Linked DNA regions of Homo sapiens: region 2 is linked to region 1. Evidence: promoter capture Hi-C in 16 types of primary human blood cells and fetal thymus (Javierre and others, 2016). All regions are on one chromosome and are shown on one strand. Each heading gives the region's core, a stretch centred on a gene start or on the middle of the fragment in contact. The rest is flanking DNA. Distances are from core to core; before and after follow the strand shown.

The links. The method cuts DNA at HindIII sites, captures the fragments that hold promoters and counts their contacts. A CHiCAGO score of 5 or more calls a contact.
Region 2: a contact is called between a fragment that was not itself captured here and the fragment with the promoter of PALM2AKAP2 in region 1, in 1 of 17 cell types (naive B cells). The highest score is 5.5, in naive B cells.

Annotation. Positions count from the first base shown.
Region 1 is chr9:109,778,533-109,783,221 of GRCh38, reverse strand. It overlaps PALM2AKAP2 (PALM2 and AKAP2 fusion), which reads right to left and starts at 3,024. Exons shown (of 11, transcript NM_007203.5): 1 at 2,689-3,024. The coding sequence starts at 2,733. The HindIII fragment of the contact is 7,761 bases long and covers 1-4,689 here.
Region 2 is chr9:110,210,149-110,214,776 of GRCh38, reverse strand. No RefSeq gene overlaps it. Among named protein-coding and RNA genes, the nearest start is that of C9orf152, 4.3 kb to the right of the region's middle. The HindIII fragment of the contact is 4,034 bases long and covers 277-4,310 here.

The sequences.
Region 1 (4,689 bases), core at 1,775-4,274:
ATGACAGCTACCTGCCAGGTGCTTCACCTCCATCCTAACTAAACCTTACAACCAGCCCAGGAGGTAGAACTCATGAACCCATTCTACAGATGAAGGAGCTGAGACCCAGACTAAAGACTGCCCAAGGCCCTGCAGACTGGAATCCCAGTCGATTCTCTGCCTCTGAGAGAGAAGCCCAAGTAAGTGAAGATGTGAGGACCTATTGTCTTCTTCCCTCACATCTCCAGAGAGACTTCAGGAGTGCTAGGTTCTGGGGGCAGGCTTGTGATCTCCTCAGGGTCCCCTGAGAACTCCAGGAAAGTGATGAGAGAGTCAGGGTTTGCAGAATTCAGAAGAGTAGGCACTAGACCAAAGCATAGCATAAAACCATTTACCGATGTGGCCATAAGTCCCCCCACCCAACTCCCTCTGTCTCTTAATTGGCTCTCTCTCTCACACACACATACACACACACACACACACACACACACACACACAAACAAACACACGCTGTTAGCAAATCTGTCCTGACAACATCATACAGTCATCCCTCAGTATCCTCAGAGAATTGGTTTCAGGACCCCCTTGGATACCAAAATCAAAGGATGCTCAAGTCCCTATAAAATAGCATGGTATTTGCATATAACCTACTCACATCCTCCCACATACATTAATCATTTTCAGATTATTTATAATACCTAATACACTGTAAATGCGACGTAAACAGTTGATTATACTGTATTATTTAGGGAATGGTGACAAGAAAAAGTCTGTACATGTTCAGTACAGACTCAGCTATCTATTATTTTTTCCAATAGTTTCAATCCAAGATTGACTGAAGGCGTGGATATGGAACCCATGAATAGGGAGGGCAGACTGTATTAGGTGCACATTCATGAGAATAATCAACAGCTCCCCAGATACACAGGACAAACTCAATTCTTCAATAACTGAAGAGGCACAAGTGAGTATTTGTGTGTATTCTTATATGCTCAAGAGAATTCCCAAAGATTTGCCTAGATCTTTCTTGGAAAATCGACTTGGCCTCTGCTGGGATTACTCAACCGCACTTGGAAAAGGGTACCCCAGTGTTAGCAGCTACTGGCTCCATGTTTGGAAAGCAAGTCCTTTCATGGAGTTCAGCTGTTCCTCAGGCATCCAGTAAAGCTGGTTGTGCAAAGGCAGAAAATGTGACAACTGTTGGAAGCCTTCAGCAGCAGCCAATGGGAACAGCCACTGCATCAACAGTTAAAGCAGCCTATTATCCAGTTCACACAAAACACCCACCAGCTACATGGCACCATTAACTCAATATCACCATTCTTATCAAGTTCATGACACACTGGCCATGCTGCCTTGCCACCAACTTTAGAAACCACAAATAACTTCACAAACCATCAAAATACACATGCACAGGGGGAAAGAGAAAGAAGAAAAAAACAACCTTTCTGAGTTCAGAGCACCACGTTCAAAGATTACCTAATAGGCAAACCATGGCATTTCAATATTGCCAGCAAACATCTCTCTCACTTCAGTGGTGAAGTCTCCAAGACATTTCAGATTTGAGGCGTTTGAGAAAGAGGGTCTCAGAGCCTTGGAGACCATGTCAAATGCTTCTAAAAAAGGAAGGGTCTGTGTGCATTTTCCCAATGAAGAATCTGTCCAAAAAGGTTTTGGAAAACGCTTTAATATACTTTGGTTCCAAAACATTACACACTATTTCTCCAACAAATTTATATGTGTTTCCAGAGAACTTCCGAACTGAAAAACACAAATGTATTTAGGTGGAAGAATGTCTGGAGATTCTTTTATGCCAATATGTTAACGGACCTTCTTTTTTAATTGTTACTATTTCATACGGCAGCAGTAATCATTCCCTCATCCTCGAAGGAAATATATAATCCAGCTGTGGTGGCTCCAGTAAAAATACCACATCTGTGGATCATTGGCAACACTGTGTTAAGATTGCTCAAATCTAGGCAGTCTCAGAGAGTTCTTTTTTAAACCCAAGATGCACATGGGTACACTTTTCTGAAAGTGCCTACGAACTTTGCCAAAACTGACTACTCCTTTGTAGGCTGAAAATAGGTTTTCAGATACTCCACACCATAAGAAGGAGGCTCTCATGGAATATTATAACCAGGACCCAGTTGTATGAAGTCCCCAGACCTCCAGGGTGGTGGCTTGTGCCAGTGCCCTTGTCAATATCAAACAGAGAAGGGAAAACTAACATTCCCGGTTTCTGGGAGGAGGTTCTACCGCGTGGCTGGCTGAGTCGCTGACTCCTGGTTTTCCACTTAACAGGAGGACAGCTTCCGCAGAGAGGATGGCAGCCACCGTTCAGGTCACCCTTCTCTTGGTTCTCCAGGCTATGAAGCCAACGTATGCCTGAGCATTCGGTCATAATATTCCTGGAGTCGTCCCCCCACCCCAAGCCTCTGTTTAGTCCTTCCCCAAAGCCCAGCAGCAAGCATCTTTTTTTAAGCCAATCTTCCACATTCAAATCCTCAGTCCAAAGCGCGCCCTTGGGGGTCTCCATCTATAGACATAGAAAAGAAAAGGCAGCCTAGCTGAGCCCTGACAGAGTTTTAGCCCCTGGAACATATGACCTGCGGCTACTGTGCTGGCATGCCGCTTGCCCCGAAACCCTCGGGGGCCCCCTTCCACCCCAGACAATAGAGCAAGAAAATAAAATGAAAGTGGACTTACTGCTATGGCTTGCAGCCTTTCCTTGTGCAATTCCGCCTCTGCCATCCTGGAGAAGGGCACACAGGCAGGGGAAAGAGGAAAGAAAAAACACACGCTGTAGTCACCCAAGGAAACTGATGGGCACCCCGGGGGGCTTTGCTAGAACCCGGGAGAACGCCCAGGGACGGCTGGGGATCCGCTCCAGGGGCGGCGGGCAGAGCTGTGCGCACGGCGGGCTCGCCCGGGCTCAGCCTCTGGCCCCCGCCCTCCCGGCCGCCTGGCTGCGCCCCAGCGCCGCCGCTCACTGCATCTCCCGGTCGCCGCCGCCGCCGGCCGCGCCAGCCGAGGACGTGGGACGCCGGCAGCCGCCGGGAGGGCGCGCTAGCCCGGCGCTAGTTCTCCGCCCTGACGTCTCGGTGCCTCGCTCCGCCCCTGGAGTGTGATGGACCCGAGGCCGCGGTCCAAGGCGGCTCCGAGCGATCGCCGCCGCGGGTCTCCAAGGCGCAGACGGAGGGCGCGCGAGCCAGTGGGCACCTGGGGCGCGGGCGCACGGCGAGCCGCTGGGGCGCACGGCTGGCGTGGCGCGCCCGCGTGGACACGCGCTTGCTGGGGCGGAGGCAGAGCGCAGTGGCGCCTCCACCGGGCAGATGCCAGTGGAGAGGGGCGTCTGACCGAATGTGGGACCCGAGCACGTGCTGTTACGTGGGGGCTGGGGCCACCGAGTGTTCAGGGCACCTTCTGGCTCAAGCCAGACGCTTGAGCTCCACGTGGGGACATTTACAATTTGGGAAGGGCTGCCTTGCCCAAGTGGCCCACATGCTTAAGATGACCAAGTTCTCAATATCAAGTCGGCCGAGGGTAGGGTATATCTCCAGAGAGGCCACCCTTCTGGTGAGGCGATATGTGGCCTTAAAAGAAGCCGAGAGTTTTTAGTCCTGGGTGCTAGACTAGATTTCACAATGTGTTAGCTGTGAAATCTCAGGCAACTCGCTTAATCACTCTGAACCTCAGTTTCCTCATCTGAAAAAATGGAGGATCACATAGGTGTCATTAGAGACGAATGAGAGACAGTATGTAAAGGTGCTTTGTAAAGGGCATCACAGACATCTGCTCTTATTATCCTGTGACATTCTGGATTGAAATCCTTTCAGGGTCTTCTGTTCATTGCATCTGAAAGGAAAAGTAGGATCTACTCACTAAAATATTTCACCTATTCTTTACTAAAACAGGATACCATGTGGTACTAATGTGAGTCTTTTGTGACAGGTCCTGGACTGGATGTAAGAAGTGGATCAGGCCCAGTCCAAAAGGAGATCAATGCCAAAAGCAAAAAAAAATGCCTCTTCACATTGAGGCAGGACCTGCTAGAATTCCCAACATTCATATGCAAACGTTTCTTCATCAAATGAAATAAACACTGAAATAACTAATATGGCCTCTTTAGAGCCATAGGATTTAAAGGCATGTTAAAAGATATACACATCAGGCCAGATGCGGTGGCTCACACCTGTAATCCCAGCACTTTGGGAGGCCAAGGCGGGTGGATCACCTAAGGTCAGGAGTTCGAGACCAGCCTGGCCAACATGGTGAAACCCCTTCTCTACTAAAAATACAAAAAATTAGCCGGGCGTGGTGGCAGGCACCTGTAATCCCAGCTACTTGGGAAGCCGAGGCAGGAGAATCACTGGAACCTGGGAGGCAGAGGTTGCAGTGAGCCGAGATCACATCATTGCACTCCAGCCTGGGCAACAAGAGTGAAACTCTGTCTCAAAAAAAAAAAAAAAAATGCACATCAAATTTTCCCAGATCACCTGTTTCCTGAATAAATGCTTCCATTTCAACTAAATTGCCCTTTCAATTTTCACAGAGGTTCACCTGTCACTGATGAACAATTACTCCTCTGACCAAAGATGGAAGCACTCACCAAAATCGTTTACTGATGGATTGTTTTCCCATCTTTTTCATAACAAGTGTAGGTGGAGCTGATTGTTTAATAAATCCAAGCCAGTGCCAGATTCTACA
Region 2 (4,628 bases), core at 1,044-3,543, 430 kb before region 1:
AAAGAGGCAGGATGCAGGCGCCCATTTTGTAGGTGTGGTTCATGGCCCAGGTGGTGTGGTTTGGGGGCAAAGAGCTGTCCTAGAAGTTTCCTAATTTGGCAGGTGGTTTTCCTGTTCAGCAGCTTCAGCAGCAGTGGTAGTATACTCATACATAATCAGAAATATTCCAGTTATCTGTTGCTGTGTAATGAACCATCCCCAAACTTAGTGACTTAAAACAAAATTTATTATTACTTCTCATGGTCTAAGCATAAACTGGGCTCAAGTAGGTAAGCTTCCCTTGGGCTCTCTTATGACGTTACATTCAGATGTGCACCGGGCTACAGTTATTTGATGGCTCAACTGGGCTGGATGTCCTGGGGTCTCACTCTCTGGCAGTTGAAGCCAGCTATTGGCTGGGAATTCACCAGAATTTGGTGGCTGACGCACCTACCGTGACACACCTCACTGTGTTGTTCAGGCTGCCCATGACGTGGTGTCCAGGCTCAGAGGAGGCACATCCCAACAGTCAGCATTCCAAACAGCAGGAATCAGAAGCTGCCAGAAGCCGCAGTTAGGGCTACACCAGGAACAGACACAGAGTCATTTCTACCACATTCTGTTAGCCAAATGATACCACTCAACCAACTCACACTTAAGAAAGTGATACAGGCTCCACCTCTTGATGAGGGAATGGCAAGCTCAGTTGCCAAAGGGTATATGAGATGAAAGATAGTGTTTATCCATCTTTGGAAAAACTACAAGGGTAGAGGAAGAGTGGTCTGGAGGCCTAATGTTGCTCTTCCTGCTCTGCTAATAATTTTACCAGCACCAATTCCCCATGTGAAATCTCTTTCTGCTTAAATTAGCCAGACTGGGATCTGTTGACTACACCTGGATCCTGATCAAGGCTGGAGGTGGGACTTTACTGTCCCCAGGCAAATAGCATTCCAATATATTACTCTGTATGTAACTGGCATAGAGCAGTGACGCTCCGGAGAGGAAAAGCATTTGGAGTTGGAAAGTCCCTTGCTGAGTTTCAAGTTTCCCATCTGGAAAATGGGGATGATAATAATAATAATTTGGCATCTACTTTATAGAGTTAAACAGATTAAATGAGTCAACACATGCGCAATATTGTCACGTGCCTAGCACCTGGAAGGCAATGCTTGATGAAGTCCGTTTTGCTTGTTTGCTCAGCTCAAGCCGGCTCCCTCTCTTTGGTAATCGCTCTATCTGCAGGCACAGTGAAGTTAAGTAACTGGCCCAAAGGCATACTGCTAAGAGAGGACATCTTAGGCCGGGTGTGGTGGCTCACGCCTGTAATCCCAGCACTTAGGCCGAGGCAGGTGGATCACCTGAGGTCAGGAGTTCAAGACCAGCCTGGCCAACATAGTGAAACCCCATCTCTACTAAAAATACAAAAATTAGCCGGGTGTGGTGCCACGCAACTGTAGTCCCAGCTATTGAGGAGGCTGAGGCAGGAGAATCGTTTGAACCCAGAAGGCTGAGCTTGCAGTGAGCTGAGATCACGCCACTTCACTCCAGGCTGGGTGACAGAGCAAGACTCCAGTCACTTAACTAACCCAAAGGCACACTTGACTCTAGAGAGCAAGGGGAGAGTAGCTAAGAATAGGGAAGATAAGACGCAAACCCGCATAGTCTAGCTTCATAGTTCATGCTCTCAATCCTTACACTGTACCACTTTTTAAAGCTGAGAACTGAAGGTGTTTACAAGTTAGCTAGGGGACATGTGGTTGCTGCCAAGGATGGAAATATAATGAAGATACGGTTGAGGTGAAAGTAAGTAAAGGAGTGTTCTAGAAGACAAAGAACAGCACATACCAAAGCTCCAAGGAGGAAAAGACATTGGTGGAATTCAAGAAATTCCTTCAGAGAAGGCTAAAGCGGTGAGAATGCTTTTCTCCCCTCTTTCACATCATGGCACACCTAGAAAATGACACTATTTGTATAGATCACTGGAATAAATGCAGAAGCTGTTTGTGGCTGGAGACACCCGGCCCAGGAGTTGTGGGTCTCAGTCATAGGCATATCTGGAACCCACTTATAGGAAATCTTGTCTAGAAAGTAGAGAGCAAGGGGAAAGTTGACACAGAGACTGGAAAGGTGAGACAGACCCAAGACAGGCACAACCCCCTGGGCCATAAGAAGGATTTGAATGCGAGTTTGAGTGTATTGGGAGGCCACTGGAGGATTTAACTGGGAGAGAAGCCATGAGATCCAATTTGCTTTGTGTCTTTTGGAGAACACTAACTGCTGTGAGGTCAAAGGATCAATGGATGAGAGGACAGGTGTGGAAGTGGGAGGGAGGGGACAGGTAAGAGGCTGTTGCAGTAGTCTTGGAAAAAGAAATGAGGACAGCATAGGCTAGGTGGATGACAGTGGAGGTGGAAAGAAATACATGGATTTCAGGTATCTTTTTTTTTTTTTTGCAATTTCTTCCTCCTAGTTCAAGTGATTCTCCAGCCTCAGCCTCCCAGTGGCTGGGATTACAGGTGCCTGCCACCACGTCTGGCTAATTTTTTGTATTTTTAGTAGAGACTGGGTTTCACCATGTTGGTCAGACTGGTCTTGAACTCCTGACTCAGATGATCCACTCACCTTGGCCTTCCAAAGTGCTGGGATAACTGGTGTGAGCCACCGCACCTGGCCGGATTTCAGGTATCTTTTAGAGCTTGTATCTCCCAGGCCTAGAGATGGTTTGGGTGTAAAAGGTGAAGGAGAAAGGATAGTAATGTTTCTTCTCTCACAGTGTTCTCATGAGAAATTAAATTTAATTTTGTCCAGGTTCCTCAAAAAAGCTAAACATAGAATTATTATATAGTCCAGCTTTTCCAAAAGAATTCACAGCAGGAATGCAAACACACACTTGTATATCAATGTTCATAGCAGCACTATTCCCAATAGCCAAAAGGTGGAAACAACCCAAATCTCCATCAACAGATGAATGGGTAAACAAACTGTGGCCTGTCCATACAATGGAATATTATTCAGCCATAAAAAGGAACGAAGTTCTGATGAATGTTTACAACATGAATGGGCCTTGACAACATGTTAAGTGAAATAAGCCAGTCCAATATATTACAAATATTGTATGATTCCACTTAGGTTGGGTACTAAAGTCATAGGGACAGGAAGTATAGTAGAGGTTGCCAGGGATGTAGGGAAGTGGGGAGCATTATTTAATGGGTACAGAGTTTCTGTTTGCGATGATGGATACGCTGGAAATAATGGTGATTGTTGCAGGGCACTGTGAATGGATGCAATGCCACTGAACTGTACACTGAAAAATTGTTAAAATAGTCAATTTCATTTACACAAATATTACCATAATGAAAAAATTGATCATTTACATAGAGTGATTAGCACATATCTGACCCACTGCAGTTTTAGATCAATGGTTATAACTATTGTTTTCATATGTCTAGCCTAGCCTCTCTTTTTTCAGAGAGGAATCTCCCTTACTCTTAAGGCTGAGAGCTTTGAATTTTTTAGTCTGTCTGCCCTGAAGCACTTCTTGACATCCTGAGTCCTTCTTCGTCATACTTGGCTCTCCTGTGGACACTGTCATTCATACACCTGCAAATCACAGTCCACTCCATAGGACAAGGTCCCCTCCTCATTGGAACCAGAGAGAAGAGAGCACAGGGAAGCCTCCATCCCTTGCAATCTTGCCCTCTTGATTCTCTAAGGCTAGATCACTAGGCTTCAGGGATGGGATAATCTCAGAGCGAACTTATTATAGGGGAGAGGAAAAGTGAAAGAACAGGGTAACTCAAGTTTTCCTGGAGTCTCCAGTGGAAAGAACTCCAAACTGAAGTTCTTCACAAGAACAGGATCCACCACTCCTGTCCTGCCCCCACTGTATACTGGGCTGACCCAGCCTGCTGCTCTCAAGCCAGCTCCCTAAGGGATTCCTTCTTCAAGTCTCTGAGTCTCTACCCACCAATGACTGGTCTTTGTATGGACAGGGTTATTGTCTGAGTCATTCTCTCTGGAGTGGTACCCCAGTTGTGAGTGATACCTGTTGCCACTCAAGTCTCACAGAATAGCTGGATCCCCTGGACAGGAGTGGACCTGGAGCCTCTGGTCTAAGTTATTTTACTGGAAGCTCCAGGGAGGGCTGTAGGGATGCTGGTTCCGGTAATGAACTAACCTGCTACATTAAGCACAGTCTTATCTCTCAACCAGAATGGGACATTTCATGTTCCATACAGTTTACATATATACAGAAAAACAAAATATTCCCTAGAATCACAAGACATCTTATTCCTACTCCAGCGTCTCCAGCCCTGAACAACTTTGAAGCTTATTTCCAGTTCCTCTGAAGGATATACCTGGATAATGAAAGTCACCCATTTAGTGGCAGCCACCCAGAACAAACTCCAGGCTTGATCATCTTTTTTCATTTATTTCTGAAGACTCCCTGGGATGAGATAGAGTTGCCAGTTTTTTCTTATACTATTGTTATTGTTATCACAGACCAAGGAAAGGAAAGTTTATTCAGTAAGTGCTATTGAAACAACTGGTCAATTATTTGGAGGAAAAAACCCCTAGATCCTTGCCTTATACCTAACACAACACCAAAATAAATTTCAAATGGATTAAAGATTTGAGTTTTAAAAGAA